2 separate regions of the Homo sapiens genome follow, and region 2 is linked to region 1. The links are contacts of gene promoters, found by promoter capture Hi-C in human tissues and cell types (Jung and others, 2019). All regions are on one chromosome and are shown on one strand. Each heading gives the region's core, a stretch centred on a gene start or on the middle of the fragment in contact. The rest is flanking DNA. Distances are from core to core; before and after follow the strand shown. Region 1 holds the start of GFRA4 (GDNF family receptor alpha 4). Region 2 holds the start of ATRN (attractin).

Region 1 (6,031 bases), core at 1,034-3,533:
GGGCGAAGAAGCGGCGCAGGGCCCGGCGGCAGCGGGCGCGGGGACAGCCCCCCTGCGCAGCCCGGCCCAGGCACTGCGCCACATACTCGGAGCGCAAACGCTGGCACCGCGCGTCCGCCGTGCAGGCTTCGGCCGCGTCCACACATCGGTTCCCTCCGACCGAGCTCGCCGACCCTGGGAAAGGCGCGGGGAGGCTGCAGGTCTCAGTGCGCCCCGCATGCACACTTCACCCAGCCCATCCACGCCCCTGGAAGGTGGGGGACACTGAAAACCCGAGAAAGCATAGAGTGTGGCCCAAAGGCGGGGCCGACTGGCACTGATCGGCTCTCCGTCGTGGGGATGGGCAGCGGCGGGCTCTGGAGGGCTCTGCAACACGTCAGGGATGGAGAGGGAGCATGGAGGCTGAGCCAGGCCTTCCCCAAAAGCTGAAGCCCCTCCTTCCCAAGCATCGCCACCATTTCTCCAGAACGGCCACACACGTCCAAAGACGGGTCCAGGGGCTCCTCCTACACTCAATGGCACTACCTGACGGGGGAACAATGAGGCTTTCTGGGGATCTGGCCAATGGAGACTTTAAAACCAGAGATGGCATAGAAGACAGTGGCTGCTCCTAGTCTCTTAATGACAGGCTGTGACGCCATACCTTTCCTCCTCTACCCCCTCCACCTCGCCGCTTATCCTCCACCATGGAGACCCTTTGGGTGGGTCTATTGATTTCTGTTTCTCCCTCCTTCCTGACCTCCTGCTCCTCCTCCTGCCCCCTGCATGGGTGTCTCCCCTCTCCAGCCCTTCCTGATGCTCCCTTGAGTCGAGGTCATCCTGCCCCATCTGCACTGGCTTCCTCCAGCCCCTCCACCCTTCATCAGCCAGGGGAGAGCGGATTCATGCAAGAGCTCTGGCCACTGAAGAACCCACTGAGTCCTGGCTGCCAGGGTGTGGATTCAGAGAAGTCCCTGACGACACACCGCCGGGCTTTGTCCTGAGCCACAGGACCCAAGGGTTCATCAGTGGTTTTAGTGACCAGGCCCCATGATAGGTGACACCCTGCTGGAGACAGAGAAGGTGCCTGGCACCCCAGTCACACACCAGGGGTTGGGTAGACAGAGGGTGAGCTCTGCCCACATGCCCACAGGCTGTGTCTAAATAGAGCCAGGATAACTGGAAGTTGGGACTTGGCAGCCCCTTCCCAGGATTTGAGTCACAAAAACCAGGCTAATCGAATCCCCCCCAGCCTCCACAAGTTCTCCAGTCTGGAGCATCTCATTCAGACTAGAAGCCTTTCTGGTGCCCAGCCTGAGTGGACGTGCACAGCCTGGCCCCTCATCCATCTCCCTGTGTGTTTGTGCACAGGGGCTACGGGGTGGTATCCCCCCCCCAGGGCTGGGAGCAGGGTGCCTCTCTGGCAATGGCTGTGTCTTTCAGGCTGTGGATTGGACCGCGTGGTGAGAGTGATTCCTGCTGTGACTTCAGCACCTGCCTCTGCAGGAAGGATGAACATAGCTCGAGGGCTTAGAATGGTCCCTGAGTGGAGGGGATAGATGGCAGCGGGGTGAGTCCTCCCTTCCTCCCCTCCCCAAAGGGCACACTTTGCTTTCCTCTCACAGCCTTGCCAGGCACATCCTCAGGTCTCAGCTGCACACACCAGCACCTGATGTTGCCTAAGGGTTTGAACCCACCTCTGCCTGTTGCTTACCTGTCACCCTTGCCCAGAACACCCTTACCCAGTCTCCACCCTCACAGCAGCTCATCTCAGCTGCAAGATCTCCTCCACCTTAAACCTTTACCAGATTCCACTTTCCACACTACACTCGGTAAAGTGACCCCTCCCTCCGCGACATCCATGCAGGGACGGAGCAGTCCAAGAAGGTGGAACAACAGATGAACAACACCGAAGATTCACCAAGGAATCTGTGTGATGGGTAGGAGGGCTGGGGCTGAGGGGAGGGTGAGAGAGTTGGGAGATGGCAGACAATAGGCAAAAGTTCCTGGGGCACGGGTGCCAAGGCTGGACTCGGGAGGGGGATGGCGGTGGTGGCTTGACGGGGCTGGGAGGTGAGGTGCTCAGCACATAGTGGGGTCAATTGCCAGGGGTCCCCAAGCCGTGCGCACAGGCCTCTCACTGGCAACCCTTCCTGTGGTTCAGCTTTTCCTGGAATATCTTGCCCTCCCACCTTGTCACTGAGGAGCAGGGACAGAGAGGCCAGGGTTCGGGGTCCAGGGGAAGAGAGGGGCGCTCACCCAGTAACAGCAGCAGCAGCAGCGCAGGCCCCAGGCAGCGGACCATGCTGGACCTTCAACAGAGAAGGATGGCTGGCAGAGCCCTAGTCTGATAGGCGCCCCCTTCCTAGTGCCTCTGGAGCAGGAGCACAGTGAAAACCCAGCTGTCTGCGCTGATACCCCTGGGAGGAGCCTTTGCTGCAGCAACTCCCCGCCCTCATTAAGTCTCCACCCCAGGCTGCACCGTCAGGTAAACCTGGGAGCCACGGGATTCGGCGCCTGAATGTGCCTAGACGGACCCCAACACACTAGCCCTGCCACGCACACCCAGCAACACACAGACAACCACCCAGGGAGACCTGGTCTCTCCCATGCTAAACTAGGAACGCTATGAAACAGCATTTTTCTTTTCCTTTTTTATATAATTCTATTTTAAACTTAAAAAAATTTTTTTGAATAGAGTTGGGGTCTCGCTCTATTGCGCAGGCTGGTCTTGAACTCCTGGGCTCAAACCATCCTCCCACCTCGGCCTCTCAAAGTGCTAGGATGACAGGTGTGAGCCACCATGCCTGGCCTATTTTAAACTTCTTATTGTTGACTAATTTTAGACTTGCAGAAAAGTTGGAAAATGTAAGCATTTTCCTTACACCCTTCACCCAGCTTCCCCTGATGGTCCATCTTACTTAATCATAGTCCAATCATTACAGCTAGGAAACTAACCTTGGTACAATCCTGTTAACGAAACTGTAGACTGTTTTGCATTTCTCATTTTTCCACTAATGTCCTTTTTCTGTTCCAAGATCCATTCTAGGATCCCACATCACAGTTGTCTCCTTATTCTCCTCAATCTGGGAGTTCCTTCATCTTTCCTTATCTTTACCCTTGACACTTTTGAAGAATCCTGGCCAGTTATTTTGCAGAATGTTTCTCTTGAGTTGTCTGATGTTTTATTCTGATCAGAATGAGACACAGCATTGTTTTGACTAACCAAAAAGTTATTCTATAAGTAAATATTGAGGTTAAAAATCTCATCCAACCTGGGCAACAGAGTAAGGCCCTGTCTCAAATAAAGTCTCAACACTAAGATTTAAAAAGTGACCAGAAAAGCCCCCACTATGATTTGTCTTGACTTTTTTTTAAAAAACAAACAAACAAACAAACAAACAAACAAAAACGATGTCTTGCTCTCTCTCTCCCTCAGGCTGGAGTGCAGTGGCACGATCTTGGCTCACTGCAACCTCCGCCTCCCAGGTTCAAGCGATTCTTCTGCCTCAGCCTCCCAGGTAGCTGGGATTACAGACGCCCGCCACCATGCCCGGCTAATTTTTGTATTTTTAGTAGAGACAAGGTTTCACCATGTTGGCCAGGCTGGTCTCGAACTTCTAACCTCAAGTGACCCGCCCACCTCTGCCTCCCAAAGTGCTGGAATTACAGACGTGAGCAACTGCGCTTGGCCTCATTAGCATCTTAAATCTCCACACAGGGGTGTGTTCCTTACTATTATAAGGAGCAAAGGATCAGTTTGAGGACAGGTAAAATAAAAATGCGCTTGCTGCCTAGAGGGAGAAGTCCCTGCTGAAGATAGCTTTGCTTGAATGAGCTCAATTGCAATGCCAGTGCTGAGGCTTGTTGACTGTACGGTCACCACAGTTGCTGCTGCGCGCCTAGAACATGGTCACTTTCTTGACTACCTATCCTGTCTCAGTACATCTGTCTGTGGTTTGTGGTGGTCCATTTCCTAATTTTTTTAATGAATCAGAAGACTGTGATGTGCTTTCCGCTGTGCTAACCATGGCCGCTGAAGCAAAATGTAAACCAAGATGCCCCTGCAGTGGTTGTGCTTCACTCTACGACATCTGTTACCGGAAAGGGGTCCAGATTCAGACCCCAGGAGAGGGTTCTTGGATCTCGTGCAAGAAAGAATTTGAGACGAGTCCATAAAGTGAAAGCACATTTATTAGGAAAGTAAAAGAATAAAAGAATGGCTACTCCATAGAGAGCGCAGCCCTGAGGGCTGCTGGTTGCCCATTTTTATGGTTGTTTCTGGATGATCTGCTAAACAGGGGTGGATTGTTCATGTCTCCCCTTTTTAGACCATATATGGTAACTTCCTGATACTGCCATGGCATCTGTAACCTGTCATGGCGCTGGTGGGAGTGTAGCAGTGGGGACGACCAGAGGTCACTCTCATCACCATCTTGGTTTGGGTGGGTTTTAGCCAGCTTCTATATTGCAAGCTGATTTTTTTGTTTGTTTTGTTTTTTGAGACGGAGTCTCGCTCCAGGCTGGAGTGCAGTGACACGATCTCAGCTCACTGCAACCTCCACCTCCTGGGTTCAAGCGATTCTCCTGCCTCAGCCTCCCAAGTAGCTGGGATTACAGGCACACACCACCATGCCTGGCTAGTTTTTGTATTTTTAGTAGAGATGAGGTTTCACCTTGTTGGCCAGGCTGGTCTCGAACTTCTGACCTCAGGTGATCCGCCCACCTCAGCCTCCCAAAGTGCTGGGATTACAGGCGTGAGCTACCGCGCCTGGCCTACTGCAAACTATTTTATCAGCAAGGTCTTTATGACCTGTATCTCCTATCTCATCCTGTGACGCAGAATGCTGTAACTGTCTGGAAACGCAGCCCAGTAGGTCTCAGCCTTATTTTGCTCAGCCCCTATTCAGGATGGAGTTGCTCTGGTTCACAGGCCTCTGACACATCCTCTTGTGTTTTGGCGTGTGGGAGGAAAGAGGGGTGAGGGAAGGAAACTCAAAACCAAGCTCTGACCACACAGGGCAGGTACACTCTCCCACCTGTCTGTGGGTGCCACAAGTCAAGGGAGGGGCAGAGAGAGAAGAAGGTGTGACAGATGGCCGCAGGCCACAGAATGTCAGAGGAAGCCCAGTTCCTCCCGGGGCAGCCCAAGTAGCTGGTAGTTGGGTGGCCAAACAGAGGGCGTCACAGCTGAGCTGGGCTCGCTCGCTACCCCCAGCTCAGCGTCCACTCTGCCCCTCAGTACCTCCTGCTCAGCCTCAGGGTCCATGCCTACCCTCCTGCTTCCCAGTCACTTCTGCGTGCCTCCTGCTTTTCTGCTGTTGGCCCCATGCCAGCTCCTTTCTGCTGAGCTTCTCTTCTCCAGTTCTGCAGCACAGCCAGGTGATCCTGGGCTCCAGACAGGCCTCTCCCCCAGTCTGGGGCCTCCCCTCTTAGAGCCCTCTTTCCTTCCCACGTGGCCTCCCCAGGGTTCGCCACTGAATGGAGAAGGGGTGGAGGGGGTGCTGGGCAGTCTTGGGGAATAGCCAAGAGGGCAGAGTTGGCCTCCCCAGGGTCCCTTGTAGCTGGAGTCCCGCGGGGTCTAGACACCCCCTCCTGAAGGGTAAGAGCGGGGGAGGTATATTAACGTGTATTTTTAGAGTCTCTCTTTTTTTTTTTTTTTTTTTTTGAGACGGAGTCTTGCTCTTGTTGCCCAGGCTGGAGTGCAGTGGCACGATCTCAGCTCACTGCAACCTCCACCTCCCATGTTCAAACAATTCTCCTGCCGCAGCCTCCCGAGTAGCTGGGATTATAGGCACGTGCCACCACACCGGGCTAATTTTTGTATTTTTAGTAGAGATGGGGTTTCACCACATTGGCCAGGCTGGTCTCGAACTTCTGACCTCAAATGATCCTCCCGCCTTGGCCTCCCAAAGTGCTGGGATTACAGGCGTGAGCCACCATGCCTGGCCTTAGATTCTCTATTTTATGATGGTTTAACATCTCGGGGTGGGGGCTTGTTGGCTGGAGAGAAACTGCTTGATTCCTGGAGATCAGAAACAACTCATGCCTT
Region 2 (6,031 bases), core at 2,241-4,740, 190 kb before region 1:
TCAAGTCCACATCACAAGACTTATTCTTGTCCTTGGAGGAACCAGGGTACAGAGTATTCTGGTAATTTATTATTGTGTAACGAACTGTCCCCAGTTGGCTCATTTATTTGCTTATGTATCTGCAGTTTGGGGCGGGTTCAGCAGGAACAACACCCCCCTGCTTCATGATTGGGGCCCCAACTGGGAAGACTTGAATGGCTGGGGGCTGGCTTCCTCACAGCATGGTGGTCTCAGGGTAGCTGGACATCTTTTATGGCAAGTGTTCCAAGACACTTCAGGAGGAAGCTGCAAGACTTCTTATGACCTAGCATAAAGTCCCATTTCTGGGACCTCAGAAATCCCAGTACATCACTTCCACCATAGTCTATCAGTCAAGCAAATCACTAAGGCCAGGCTAGATTCAGAGTGGGGTGGGGGTGGGGGTGGGGGTGGGGCCGGGGCCAAGGGTTAGACCTGATCTCTCCATAGAAGGAATGTAAGAGAATTTGCAGCCATCTTTAATCTATCACACAGACATAGAATGTGTAGGGGACTTTTTGATAAACGCAGTAAAGGAAAAAGAAGATAGCAGGTAAGATTTTGTTTCTTTGTTTATTTGTTTTTAGAGACAGGGTCTTGATCTGTTGCCCAGGCTGGAGTGCAGTGGTCCAAACATAGCTTACTGCAGCCTCAAACTCCTGGGCTCTGTGATCCCCCTGCCCCAGCCTCCCAAGTAGCTGGGACTACACATGCACGCCACCACATCTGACTAATTTTTTAAAAAATTTTTTGTAGAGACAAGGTCTCACTATGTTGTCCAGGCTGGTCTCAAACTCCTGGCCTCAGGTGATCCTCCCACCTTGGCCTCCCAAAGCACTGGGATTACAGGCATGAGCCACTGCACCCAGCGTGTTTGTTTTTTAAGGACAAAATAATTTGAGCATGTTTGAAAGCTAAGGAAAAAGAACCAGAGAAGAGAGTAGATTAAGGAAGTAAGAAAGAATGTTTGCTGCAGCAAGATTCTAAGGCTTCAGAGTAGCAATATCTAGTCTAGGGATTGCTGTTCTTCAGATGCACACCTTTTCTGTTATCCCTGAATGTTGGTAAAATCATGTGAAACTTCACAGTGTGGGTTCAGTCTTGCTGTGGGGAGGGAAGGGAAGGAAAGGGCTGGTTCACTTCTGGCCTGGAAGATTAGGGGGAGCAATGTCTCCTACAGCTAGGGCATGGCCTATGCCAGCCTCCCCATCTGATGGGGTCCTGCCAGAGGGTAGGGCCATGTCTTCAATTTCAAAATCCTACATGGCAAAAACATAACCTGCAAACCAGAATGTCAGTGCTAGGGCCTAGGCCGAACAATAGTTTTCCTGTAGGAATGGGGAGTATGTGTGGATGTAGAGCTGGGGGTAAGGCTTTTGTGCAATTCAGCTTCACCAGGCTTGAAGAAGATGCAGTGAGGACAGTCAGGACCTGAGTATGAGAGTGGGACCTGGGTATGAGTGTGGAAATCCATCTTAGAACCTTAAAATTCCATACTCTGAGGTAAAGCTGAGAGGCTCCACAGGTCTATGAGGGTTTTTCTTTGTTTCCCAGGGACTGTAAGGTGCCCAGATTCTGAGGTAGGTGCCATAGGAATATTCCTCATAGCACAAGCATTATGTCGGACAATGTTCTGCTTATCTATTACTGAGTAACAAACCTCTCTAAAACTTAGAGGCTTAAAATAACATAAATCATAATTTATGAAAAATTATAAATAATTCATCACTTAAGGGTTAAATGATAAATGAGTTATTTCTTAGGATTTTGGATAAGTCACAGTTAGGAAAGACCTGTTACTGTTGTAGGTAACATGGAACAGCCCAGACGGTTGGAATAACCCAACCCAGATAGCTTCTTCACTCAATGACTGATCCCTTAGCTAGGATGGCTCCACCAGCTGAGCGGCCCAGCTCTCCCTCTCCAAGTCCAAGTGGTCTCTGCACATGGTTTCTCTCCAGCAAGGTGGCTAACGGGGTGCAGCTCATGACCACCAACAGCTCAAAATCAAGGCTGCCAGGTCTTTTTTTTTTTTTGAGACAGAGTCTCGCTCTGTCCCCCAGGCTGGAGTGCAGTGGCGCGATCACGACTCTCTGCAACCTCTGCCTCCTGGATTCAAGCGACTCTCCTGAGTAGCTGGGATTACAGGTGTGTGCCACCACGCCCGGCTAATTTTTGTATTTTTTGTAGAGACAGGGTTTCACCACGTCGATCAGGGTGGTCTCGAACTTCTGACCTCGTGATCTGCCCGCCTCGGCCTCCCAAGGTGCTGGGATTACAGACGTGAGCCACCGTGCCCGGCCAAGGCTGCCAGGTCTTTTTTAAGCTCAGAGCTAGAAACAAGACATTGCTACTCCTACCAACTTCTTCTATTGGTGAAATTGAGTCATGGTTTCTCATGGTCTCAATCATGACCCAGCCCAGATTCCAGGGTCAAGGACCATAAAAGGCTACATTGATGGAAGACATGTCTCATTGAGGGACACCAGAGTAACAACTACCAGACAAGAAGGGGCAGGTCTGTGTGAGCGCCATTTCCTAATTCTATATTGCCCACTCTTCAGAGAAGATGGTTGGAGGGCAAATTGTGGGGAGCAAGGTAACTCCAAACTTTTACAGAATTAAAGGTAGGGGGTCTGGTCAGCTACAGTCCATCTGTTATCAAGAGGCCTGGCTGTGTGTCTTCATTCAGTTTATTAGGCATTTACTGAGCACAGCCTACATGCCAGGTTCTTCATTTTTTGACACAGGGTCTTGTGTTGCCCAGGCTGGAGTGCAGTGCTGCGACTGCGGCTCACTGCAGCCTTGACCTCTCCAGACTCAAGCGATCCTCCTGCCTCAGCCTCTGGAGTAGCTGGGGATACAGGCGCGCACCACCATGCTCGGCTAATTTTTGTATTTTTAGTAGAGACAGTGTCTCACCCTGTTGGCCAGGCTGGTCTCGGATCCCAGAGATCAAGTGATCCGCCTGCCTCAGTTTCCCAAAGTGCTGGGATTACAGGCGTAAGCCTCCGCGCCCGGCCTATGCCAGGTTCTACATGTGTTCTTTCTTGACTCTTGTGTTACAGAGGCTCGAATGAAGCCTGGCTTCTACAGTACCGCACCCAGCACCTCGCTGCGATGCAGCCTCCTGTACCCTTTCCGTCCGGCAGCTGGAGTTAGGGCAGAGTGCCGGGTCTCTAGGAGGGCAACACTCAACGCAGTCGGCTCCTAGGCATCCAGTGGGGCTGCAACCCCGCCGCCGGGGACGAAAGGCGAAGGGGGAAAACTAGAGCTTTCGCCGGCCGGGACAGCGCAGCCGGGTTTCAGCTCGTTCTACGGTCCACGTCAGAAGATCGCCTCCGGCGCCGCGGACGCCGGAGACCACTGTCTGCGCCCCCGCACGCACGCACCCACGTACTCGCGCACGCGCGCGCCGGCCCCGCCCACCGCCCCGCTGTGGCCCCTTTGGACCGCACGAGCCACCGTCCGCACAGCCCCGCCCCGCACGGCCAGGCGAAGCGGAGCCGGCCGTGCGGTGTGTGTGTATGTGTTCGCGGGGCGCCGTCTCAGCCCCGGGAAGATGGTGGCTGCAGCGGCGGCAACTGAGGCAAGGCTGAGGAGGAGGACGGCGGCGACGGCAGCGCTCGCGGGCAGGAGCGGCGGGCCGCACTGGGACTGGGACGTGACCAGGGCTGGGAGGCCGGGGCTGGGGGCCGGGCTGCGCCTCCCGCGGCTGCTGTCTCCACCGCTGCGGCCACGGCTGCTGCTGCTGCTGTTGTTGCTCTCGCCGCCGCTGCTGCTGCTGCTGCTGCCCTGTGAGGCCGAGGCCGCGGCGGCGGCGGCGGCGGTGTCGGGCTCAGCCGCAGCCGAGGCCAAGGAATGTGACCGGCCCTGTGTCAACGGCGGTCGCTGCAACCCTGGCACCGGCCAGTGCGTCTGCCCCGCCGGCTGGGTGGGCGAGCAATGCCAGCACTGCGGGGGCCGCTTCAGGTGAGTGGCGGGTGGTGTCGGAGGGTCGGGTCCAACCAGAGGCTGGGGCTGAGGGGCGTTCGAGACGGCTCCAGGTCAGAGGGAGATGCTGGACAGAAAGTGGAGAGGGTAGGGCCGCCCTATGGGGTTTGAGGGCCATTTGCTTCCGGGGAGATCATCGTCTCTGGCCTGGGGTCTTTCTCTGTTGGAAGGTGAAAAGGTGTGGGGCAAGGGTGGGGGCACCCCGACGGTATTTGGGTGCTTAGGTTAGTTAGATGGGAAGAATGCTGAGGGACCCAAAGAGCATCAAAGCCGATCGCTCTAAAACTCGGCGTGTTTCAGCTAAACGAGGTATCCAAGGAAAGGTGGTCGAGCCAGGTTTGCTTGAACACTTCCTTTTAACATCCACATGTGCCCTAGGACCCGATGAGTTCCCCGATGCACTGGAGATGTGGGGTGCTCTGAAGAAACAGGGCCCTGGAAATGCTTTGTTGGCTGGAGATAAAAGGGAAAGGGTAGCATTGTAAGATATTAGGGATAGAAGGACCAGTGGTCCTTCTAAAGGAAAGTGAGGAAACTAGCCTTTTGGCAAAAGCTCCCTGGAGGTGGCAAATTGGAATAGGGTCTGTGGTGAAGAGGGAATGGAAGGAGATTCCTATTTGCCTTGGTTTCTGGACAATATGAAGTTCTGAATTGGCTTAGTTTGGGGCAGTTCCTCTTGGAGAAATCAATAAATTAATTAGCAGTTATCGTTATTTGCTTCAGTTGTGCAATGATTTTCCAGATAATACAGACAGATTAGCCAGACTTTGGCCTTGTCCACAGGGAGTTTGGAATATAGCAAGAGAAAGATAATGTGCGCACATAACCCTAGTCATAAGGGTTACAGAGTCATTCACGCCTTTGACAGGTATTTAGCTTACTGAACACATGTCTGATGTGGGGGAGTGGGGAAATGTGAACAAGACAGACAGGGCCTCTGCTCTCATTGACCTTAACATTCTAGTGGGAGCAACAGGCACTTAACAAGTAAATAAATGAGAGAAATAAACATGGTAATTTCAGGTAATGGTAAATGCTATCAAGAAAATAAAAACAGCGTGGTCTGATAGAGAATTATAACCGGTGGTGACTCTTGGAGAGGGTTCTCATTTGAAATGACATTTGATCTGAGACCTGAATGAGGCAACAGGGAACTTGTGGGAATTCAGGGATGGAGAGGTTGTGGCTAGCTGGAGGGATGCAAGGAGGACTTTGAGGAGGCGGTAACATTGGATTTGAGCATGTAAGGTTAAGTAGGATTTGGAAATGTGGAGCTGGAAAAAAATTACAGATGGAAAGAAGGGTGCAAACAAAGTTGTGGAGGCTGGAAAGTAAAGTTTTGCTGCTGCCTATGTGGAAGAGAGTTGTGAGAGAGGAGTTTGGAATAGCAAAATTGTAGACTTAGGTAATATTAGGTCTTCTGAGGAACTCAGAGAACGTTGAGCAGATGAGCTCTTTAGTTTTATGGATGGAGAAACCAAGTTACTTCAGGACCACTGATGCAGTGAAGCTGCTTTTGTAACTTAGGGTGTTCTGATTTATGAATTCCATTAACCTACATGTATTTGTTGAGGGCTCCTATGTTTTAGGTTGTGAGATACAGTGGTATACAAGACAGGCACAGTCCTGCTCTTACGGAGCTCACATTTCAGCTTGGGAGTAAAAAAATCCAACAAAAATTTTATTGTAATTTTGTTTAAGGCTGTGGAGGTAAAGAGCAGGAGACAAACAGAGGACTTGACTTAGTCTAGGGGTAAGGTAAGTCACTGAGGAAGCGATGTGAAGTCTGAGGGGTGAGATGGTACTACCTGCGTGAGGGGTGGGGTGCTGAGGGGCCAGCAGGTACAGAGGCTTGGGGTTGAAGCGGATGGAAGGCCAGGTGGCAGGAGCAGAGAGAGCAAAGGGGAGCTTGGCAAGACTGGAGAGAAAGGCGGGAAGCCAGGCCAAGTGGAGATCTGTGGGTTGGATTGAGAATTTTGACCTTTAGCCCAAGAGCTGTGAAATGGCGTAGTTCACGCCT

What was found. Contacts are between HindIII fragments. The study calls those that stand out against the background at their distance.
Region 2: a contact is called between the fragment with the promoter of ATRN here and the fragment with the promoter of GFRA4 in region 1, in 1 of the 25 tissues and cell types used here (liver).

What each region holds. Positions count from the first base shown.
Region 1 is chr20:3,661,116-3,667,146 of GRCh38, forward strand. It overlaps GFRA4 (GDNF family receptor alpha 4), which reads right to left and starts at 2,284. Exons shown (of 6, transcript NM_022139.4): 1 at 2,239-2,284; 2 at 1-174. The coding sequence starts at 2,284. RefSeq lists an enhancer at 5,795-6,031. The HindIII fragment of the contact is 25,120 bases long and covers 1-6,031 here.
Region 2 is chr20:3,467,528-3,473,558 of GRCh38, forward strand. It overlaps ATRN (attractin), which reads left to right and starts at 3,491. Exons shown (of 29, transcript NM_139321.3): 1 at 3,491-3,990. The coding sequence starts at 3,581. RefSeq lists an enhancer at 3,078-3,217 and a silencer at 3,318-3,877. The HindIII fragment of the contact is 27,188 bases long and covers 1-6,031 here.